Linked DNA regions of Homo sapiens: region 1 is linked to region 2. The links are contacts of gene promoters, found by promoter capture Hi-C in blood cells and fetal thymus (Javierre and others, 2016). All regions are on one chromosome and are shown on one strand. Each heading gives the region's core, a stretch centred on a gene start or on the middle of the fragment in contact. The rest is flanking DNA. Distances are from core to core; before and after follow the strand shown.

Region 1 (3,989 bases), core at 292-2,791, 300 kb after region 2:
TCAAGTGGTTGGTTGCTCAATAAATATTTGCTGGGTGAAAAAAATCTGATATTTACTTCAGAGTTCACTATGTCATTTTTCTTAATGAAAGTATATCCAAGTAGATATCTTGCTAAAATAAGAACAGCTGGAAACTATCTTAAGTGGAATTGCCTGAAGAAGAGGTGTGTCCATTTTCATTGTTTTGTAGAGTTTAGTTCATCCAGCATATCCCTCGCTTCCTTTCCTTCTTTATAGGGTTCCACAAGGAGCTTTGCTGTGGGCGAACTGTTAGCTGGAGCTGTGATAATTAGGCCAAGGTCATGCATCTGTCCCTTGTGGGCCAGTTAGCTCAGCTTGGCTCCATGTCCATACGCATTGATCTTAACCCAGCGGCAGACTCACAAGTGTGTGACCGCATCCCAGAGGACTGCGGGGGAAGGGTTTCTGTGGATCAGGGCAAATCGCTCCTGCCGGAGAAGCACCTTCACGGTCAGCTCTCTTATGGTTATTATGACCTGAAGGTGGCGCTGTTTCTCAAGGAAAACTGGCGTAGGGTCGCCGACAGTCTATTTTAAAGTGAGTGTGAAATGATAGAATGTCAGAGTTGGAGAGAATCTGCGAGGTAATCTTTGGATCGATTTCCTCACTTTCCAGCCAAGGAAACAGATCCAGAGGGATAAAACTCTTGTCAGAAGTCACACCACAGATTCCTGACAGAGGCATGGCTAGACACGGGCCTCCCAGGTCATAAACTTTTACAATTTTCACTGCACTAAGGGTTTCCTGATCCTAAATGGTATCAAGCAATTAATAATGCTTAAAAGAAAACTGAATGAATCATTGATAACTAACCTGGTGATATTGTCAATGAATTAAGTTACTGAATTTCAAATGTCTGTTATTTCTAATCACAGGTCAGATTCAAGTTGTTTTGGCTTTTACTACAAAAAGCATCTTTACATATATCTGCAATTTAATGGATAATTTATTTTCCCTTTCCATACATCTGAAAGAAGAAACATAATTGGTATGAACAGCACTTAATTCCAGACTGACTTCTTTTGAACTGTAGGTAAGCATTATTTGTTTGAATGATTACAATTGAGACAAAATGTGGGTTTTTAACAGCTGCTCACAGATTGCAGGCTGATAATGACAGTAACTCTATGGCAGCTATTTGTAACCCCTACCCTAGTTCATAGAAAGAGAAGCATATTAGACAGTGGGCATGGCAAGTACCTCTCCGCAGGTGTGTACGGAATCAGAATTCAACTTTTAGAAGATTTCTGCTCTGAAAACAAATTATTTTTTAAAGTAAGCTTTTACTTATTTTGGGGGGTATGGTGAGTACTTGGGAACGTGAGAGAGTGTTTCCTACTTTTCTCATGGTGAGAGTTGACAAGATGTGAGGTTTGGAGCCTGTGTTGTAGAATTCAAGGTCATCAAAAAAGGCAGGTCTTGTGGCTCTGCTTGAGGCATGAGTTAAAACTTTTCTTATCATCCTGATCAAATACAGTTGTAGGAGTTGTCGCAGGGAGATTAGCACCCTTTCTCCAGTTCATCTTGGACAGGTGGTTTTTATTATTCTTGTATTTGGTTTTTATCCTCTTTCTTTCAGAGCTAAGGGAGACTCATCAGAATGGATGGTTTCTGAAATAGGAATCTATTCAAGATTTAGGAATATAGAATTTTTATTTTTTAAAACACATTACATTTCATTACACTGTCCAATGATATAACAGAACCACAGACTTTTCTGGTTGTGTCCTGCTCTTTATTTTTACCTGGATCCAAGCTTTCTTCAATGATTCTCTCTCTCTCTCTTTTTCTTTTTCTTTCTTTTTTTTTTTTTCTTTTTTGAGTTGGAGTCTTGCTCTGTCACCCAGGCTGGAGTACAGTGGTGTGATCTTGGCTCACTGCAACCTCCGCCTCCTGGGTTCAAGTGATTCTCGTGCCTCAGCCTCCTGAGTAGCTAGGATTACAGGTGTATGCTACAATGCCTGATAAACTTTTGTATTTTTTGGTAGAGACTGGATTTCACCATGTTGCCCAGGCTGGTCTCAAACTTCTGGCTTCAAACTATCTGCCTGCCTCAGCCTCCCAAAGTGCTGGGATTACAGGCGTGAGCACCGTGCCCTGCCTCTCTTCAAGGACTCTCTTTGCTACATCGGCATCACCTGGGAACGTGGTAGGGCTACAGAATCTTGGGCCCCACCTTGGACCTACCTAATCGTCATCTTATTCATTGGTGTTCCCTTCGCCAGGTGAGTTTTGCACTGACTAAAACACACAGATCTATCAGGTGAGTCGAAATGGCAATACTCATTTACCTTAGTTCTGCCTTTATTTTACTTTCAGTGTTTTATCCTTGTCCATGGAGTCACTCTCATTCATGCAGTTCCACAAATATTTTTTAAGGCCCACTCTGTGGCAGACATAATACAAAGGGCTGAGAATAAAGATGAAAAAAATCATTTACTCAAAGTATGTAGTATGTCATCCAATGATAAGTTATGGAGGAAAAGGCAGGCTAAGGGGGCCGGGAGTGTGGGAAAAGGGTGCAGTGGTATACAGAGTGATCAGCGAAGCCTTCTCCCAGGAAGGGGCCTCTGAGCAGAGAAGGGGAGGACAGAAGGAAAAGTCACGTGGAGGGCTCAGGGAACTACCTCCTCTGCCCTCCAAAGCCACTAGCGAATCGCTGTGTGCGAGGGTTGCCACATTTAGCAAAAATACAAGATACCTAGTTGCATTTGAATTTCAGATCAACCTTGAATATGTGTTGGGTATAACATACTAACTTTTTTTCTTTTTCTTTTTCCTTTTTTTTTTTGTTTTGAGACAGAATCTCACTCTGTTGCCCAGGCTGGAGTGCCGTGGTGCGATCTCGGCTCACTGCATCCTCCGCCTCCCTGGTTCAAGAGATTCTCTTGCCTCAGCCTCCTGAGTAGCTGGGATTACAGGCACCTGCCACCATACCCAGCTAATTTTTGTATTTTTAGTAGAGACAGGGTTTCGCCATGTTGGCCAGGCTGGTCTTGAACTCCTGACCTCAGGTGATCCGGCCGCCTCGGCCTCCCAAAATGCTGGGATTACAGGCGTGAGCACCGTGCCTGGCCTAACTTTTAATATTAAAATACACATATATAAAATTTAGTACATATACTAGTACATAGTACATGTACTAAATTATATTGTAATGTTTTTAGTATGTCCCATACAATATTTACGACATATTTATTTATACTAAACAAATTCATTGTTTATCAGAAATTAAAATTTAACTGGGCATCCCATATCTGTGTGACCCTCTGTGTGACCGATGGCTTGTGGACCAGACCATGAGCTTGGGGAATGTCCTTCTCAGCAGGACCACCATTTCCCTTCTCAGTCAACCCTCACCTTGTTCCCTAGGCTCTGGGCAGGGTCACCTTGAAGGCGGCCATCTGTGGCCTTGTGTTAACTCCACAGGTGACACCTGGATTCTGTAGTCAGATAAGAATGTGCGCCTGTCTTCTATAGCCAGCTAAGCATTTCCTAAACTAAACACTCCTAAAAAGTCTTCTCTAGTGAACAAAACACATCTTAGAATCCTCCAGGAATATACTCCATTGTGAATGGATCACAGTGGGGAAAAAAAGTGAATTGTTCCTTTGTCCATCTAATGTTTGGGAGAAACTCATGATTTATTTTGCAGCCAAACGCACACGCAATCCAGTTTGCAGTTTTCCAAAGGCTATTTCTGATGTGGGATGTGTGGCTCCTCCCACCTCTTCCTGGTATAATCTATAGCGTAACATCTGTGTGTCTATGCTAAGAGTCAAGCCATTAACCTCTGAATTTATTTATTTATTCGAGATGGAGTTTTGCTCTAGTCGCCCAGGCTAGAGTGGAATGGTGCCATTTCTGGTCACTGCAACCTCCGCCTCCCGGGTTCAAATGATTTTCCTGCCTCAGCTTCCCAAGTAGCTGGGATTACAGGCATGCACCACCATGCCTGGCTAATTTTG
Region 2 (3,917 bases), core at 800-3,299:
GATTACAGGCATGAGCCACTGTGCCTGGCCTTGGAGTGCATTTAGAAGCAAGGCTGGGAGAAGGATGAGATTGAGAGATATAAGGCACCTTACTGGGCCTGGAAGCAGAAGAGGGGGATGGCTACTGGCAACTTTTAGGAAGTTTTGCTTGGTGGCTTTTTTTTTTTTTGAGACAGTGTCTCGCACTGTCACCTGGGCTGGAGTGCAGTGGCGCAATCTCAGCTCACTGCAACCTCCACCTCCAGGGTTCAAACGATTCTCCTGCCTCAGCCTCCCGAGTAGCTGGGATTACAGGCATGCGCCACCACGCCCATCTAATTTTTTGTATTTTTAGAGAGATGGGGGTTTTCCGTGTTGGTCAGGCTGGTCTCAAACTCCCGACCTCAGGTTATCCACCTGCCTCAGCCTCCCAAAGTGCTGAGATTACAGGCGTGAGCACTGCGTCTGGCCTTATTTTTCTTTTTAAAAATTTTTTAGTGGCCAGGTCTTTTTTTTTTTAGACGGAGTCTGGCTCTGTCGCCCAGGCTGGAGTGCAGTGGCACGATCTAGGCTCACTGCAAGCTCCGCCTCCCGGGTTCACGCCATTCTCCTGCCTCAGACTCCCGAGCAGGTGGGACTACAGGCGCCCGCCACCACACCTGGCTAATTTTTTGTATTTTTAGTAGAGACGGGGTTTCACCGTGTTAGCCAGGATGGTCTCGATCTCCTGACCTCGTGATCCGCCCGCCTCGGCCTCCCAAAGTGCTGGGATTACAGGCGTGAGCACCGCGCCCGGCCAGAAATCCTATTTTCTTTCACATGAGTTATTTTGTTGATTGTTTGCTTATAACTAAAGCCCTCAGAATCAGAGTTTATACTGTATCTTTTTCTGTGTTCCTACATAGATGGCAATAAATGATTCTAATGTTTATGATGTAGAAGCTGAGGAGGCTAATACCTATTTCTGGCTCCTTTTAGGAGACACAGTCATAACAAAAAATATTGCTTAATGTGCGAGGCACAGTGCCAAGTGGTTTACATACATTGTGTAATTCTCCCCCTAAAAAAGTCAATGAAGTTGATACAATTATTATTTCATTATATGTAAAATAGGGAAAATAACAGCATTTATCTCAGAGGGCTGTTGTAAAGATTAAATGAATGCCTGTAATCCCAGCACTTTGAAAGGCCGAGGCAGGCAGATCACCTTAGCTCAGGGGTTCGAGACCAGCCTGGCCAACATGGTGAAACCTGGTCTCCACTAAAAATACAAAAAAATTAGCTGGGCATGGTGGTGCGCGCCTGTAATTCCAGCTACTCGGGAGGCTGAGGCAGGAGAATAGCTTAAACCCGGGAGGTGGAGGTTGCAGCGAGCCGAGATCGCGCCACCACACTCCAGCCTGGGCGACAGAGCGAGACTCTGTCTCAAAAAAAAAAAAAAAAAAGTAAATGAGAATATACATAAAGCACTTAGCACAATGGCATACTATTTACTATAGTTTACTATTTATTGCAACTCTCATTTTGCAGGTATCTTGCCTAAGGTGCAAGCAGAAGAAACAGGATTTTCAACCCAGATCTGAAAACTCCCAAGCCTCTGCCTTTTTCTTTTTATCCTTTTTCTTTTTCCTTGTTAAAAAACTTGCTTCCTGTACAGAGAGGGGAAATGCTCAGTCCCCACGTCAGTGGTTGAACTCCAAGCCAGAAGATCCCTATTTTGATTTTGTCCTCTGGCCTGTCGCCAGCCCCTCAACAGTACTTGAATTAATAAAAGGGCAGGTTTTAAGCCTCATGTATCTGCGCAGGTGACTCCTTCTGTGACCCCGAATAAACCTGTTCCGGTCCCGTTCCGGGGAAACAGCCTTGCCTTCCCCTGCCCCCAGAAAGTTACCCTCGCCCTCCGAGCCACAACTCCCCACGCCGCCAACTCGGTCTTTACATCATTTTCGACGCCCCCTAAGTCCCTCCCGAGAGGCGCAGGCGCACATCGCCCCTTCTAGCGAACTACATCTCCCACAATCCCAATCGGCCGGACCACCTCCGCTCGGGGCGGGGACGGAGGTGGAGCTGGTGGTCCCCGGTCGGGACGAAGGCTCCCGAGGTGCCCTGCCTGGGTCCTCCGGGGTAAAGTTCGTTTGGCGGAAGATTGTCCGTTTTCCTGGTAAGGTCACCTGTCCCAATCAGGTACGATTCTGCCTTCCGTACCCCCGAGCCCCTCAGTGTAAAGTGGCAAATGGTCTAGCCCGGCGGAGGCACCAGCTGGAGGCGGTGGGAGGGACACCCGCAGTGAAGGGCGGACCGCGCACGCATGCGCAGAGGCGCGGCAGGGGGGCGGGAGCCGCGGAACCCCTACCCCAGGTCTGCGCAGGTGAGGAGGGGGCGGGGCAGGACCGACCTCCCTTGCCATGATAACCACCTTCGCAGCCGGCTCCCAGACCGTTGGCACCGATTGCCTAGAAAATAGGGGGTCTCAGGAGCTCCGTTTTAGCGTTTATATATCCCAATTCCAATTAAGCCACTTCCAGTATTTTTTGGCCATTGTCAGTGTACAAGTCTTCCTCCTCTTCGAGACCATGTTATTGCAATAGCAGCAAACGTGTTGGGAGGCCTCACAATTCATCATGGTTTTTCTGGCCTCTGGCAGATAGCTCCTTCCTAGCGAGCTGTGGAGCTTAAAGTCTTTTGGACACTTGATTCTATTCAATCCAGTATCAGACCAGGTACGTACCTTGTCCATAAGTCGTCTTATGAGAAGACTTCTTGAGATGATGCAGACTCTCGTGCAGTTTATAATCGGCTGGAGGTATAGACAGTTAAGCAAGCCTCCTTTTTTACTGTGCCCACCCCTAACCATTTTGCTTACACCTTGTTATGGGACTTGGTTAAATTGCTTAACCTTCCGGACCTACGTTTTCTCATTAAATGAGAAGATTGGATTAGATGATCTCTAAGAACTTTCCACTTGTAAAATATACGGTTAGTTAGTGAGGGGTAGAATCCAGATTCTATCTATCTATATTTTTTTGAGACAGAGTCTCACTCTGTTGCCCAGGCTGGAGTGCAGTGGCACGATCTCGGTTCACTGCAACCTCCACCTCCCGGGTTCAAGCGATTCTCTTGCCTCAGCCTCCCGAGTAGCTGGGACTGCAACCTCCAGTTAATTTTTGTATTTTTAGTAGAGACAGGGTTTTGCCATGTTAGCCAGGCTGATCTCGAACTCCTGACCTCAGGTGATCCACCCACCTCGGCCTCCTAAAGTACTGGGATTACAGGCGTGTGCCACCGTGCCTGGCCCCACAATATGTTAACACTAAACTTCATCAGCTTCCACTTTTCTGCCCACATCAGTGAAATATAGCTATAAGAATGCAGCTGGTGGGGCTGGGTGCGGTGGCTCACGCCTGTAATCCCAGCACTTTGGGAGGTCGAGGCGGGCAGATCACAGGGTCAGGAGATCGAGACCATCCTGGCTAACACGGTGAAACGCCGTCTCTACTAAAAATACAAAAATTAGCCAGGAGTGGTGTCGTGCACCTGTAATCCCAGCTACTTGGGAGGCTGAGGCAGGAGAATCGCTTGAACCCGGGAGGCAGAGGTTGCAGTGAGCCGAGATCATGCCATTGCACTCCAGCCTGGGTGAGACTCTGTCTCAAAAAAAAAAAAAAGAAAAGAAAAGAAAAGAAAAAAGAATGTGGCTGGGCACAGTGGCTCACCCCTATAATCCCAGCACTTTGGGAGGCAGAAACTGGCAGATCGTTTGAGCTCAGGAGTTGGAGACCAGGGTGGGCAACATGACGAAACCCCATCCCTACAAAAATACAGAAATTAGCCAGGTGTGGTGGTGCACGCCTGTAGTCCTAGCAACATGAGAGGCAGAGGTGGGAGGATCACTTCAGCCCAGGAGGTTGATGCTGCAGTGAGCCACGATTGTGCCACTG

The links. The method cuts DNA at HindIII sites, captures the fragments that hold promoters and counts their contacts. A CHiCAGO score of 5 or more calls a contact.
Region 1: a fragment that was not itself captured here is called in contact with the fragment with the promoter of DNAJC28 in region 2 in 1 of 17 cell types (total B cells); the score reaches 5.2 in total B cells.

Annotation. Positions count from the first base shown.
Region 1 is chr21:33,193,568-33,197,556 of GRCh38, reverse strand. LOC105372787 (a long non-coding RNA gene) reads left to right here and starts at 2,040. Exons shown (of 3, transcript XR_937675.3): 1 at 2,040-2,246. The HindIII fragment of the contact is 476 bases long and covers 1,304-1,779 here.
Region 2 is chr21:33,489,848-33,493,764 of GRCh38, reverse strand. It overlaps DNAJC28 (DnaJ heat shock protein family (Hsp40) member C28), which reads left to right and starts at 2,049. Exons shown (of 2, transcript NM_001040192.3): 1 at 2,049-2,163. The HindIII fragment of the contact is 6,958 bases long and covers 1-3,917 here.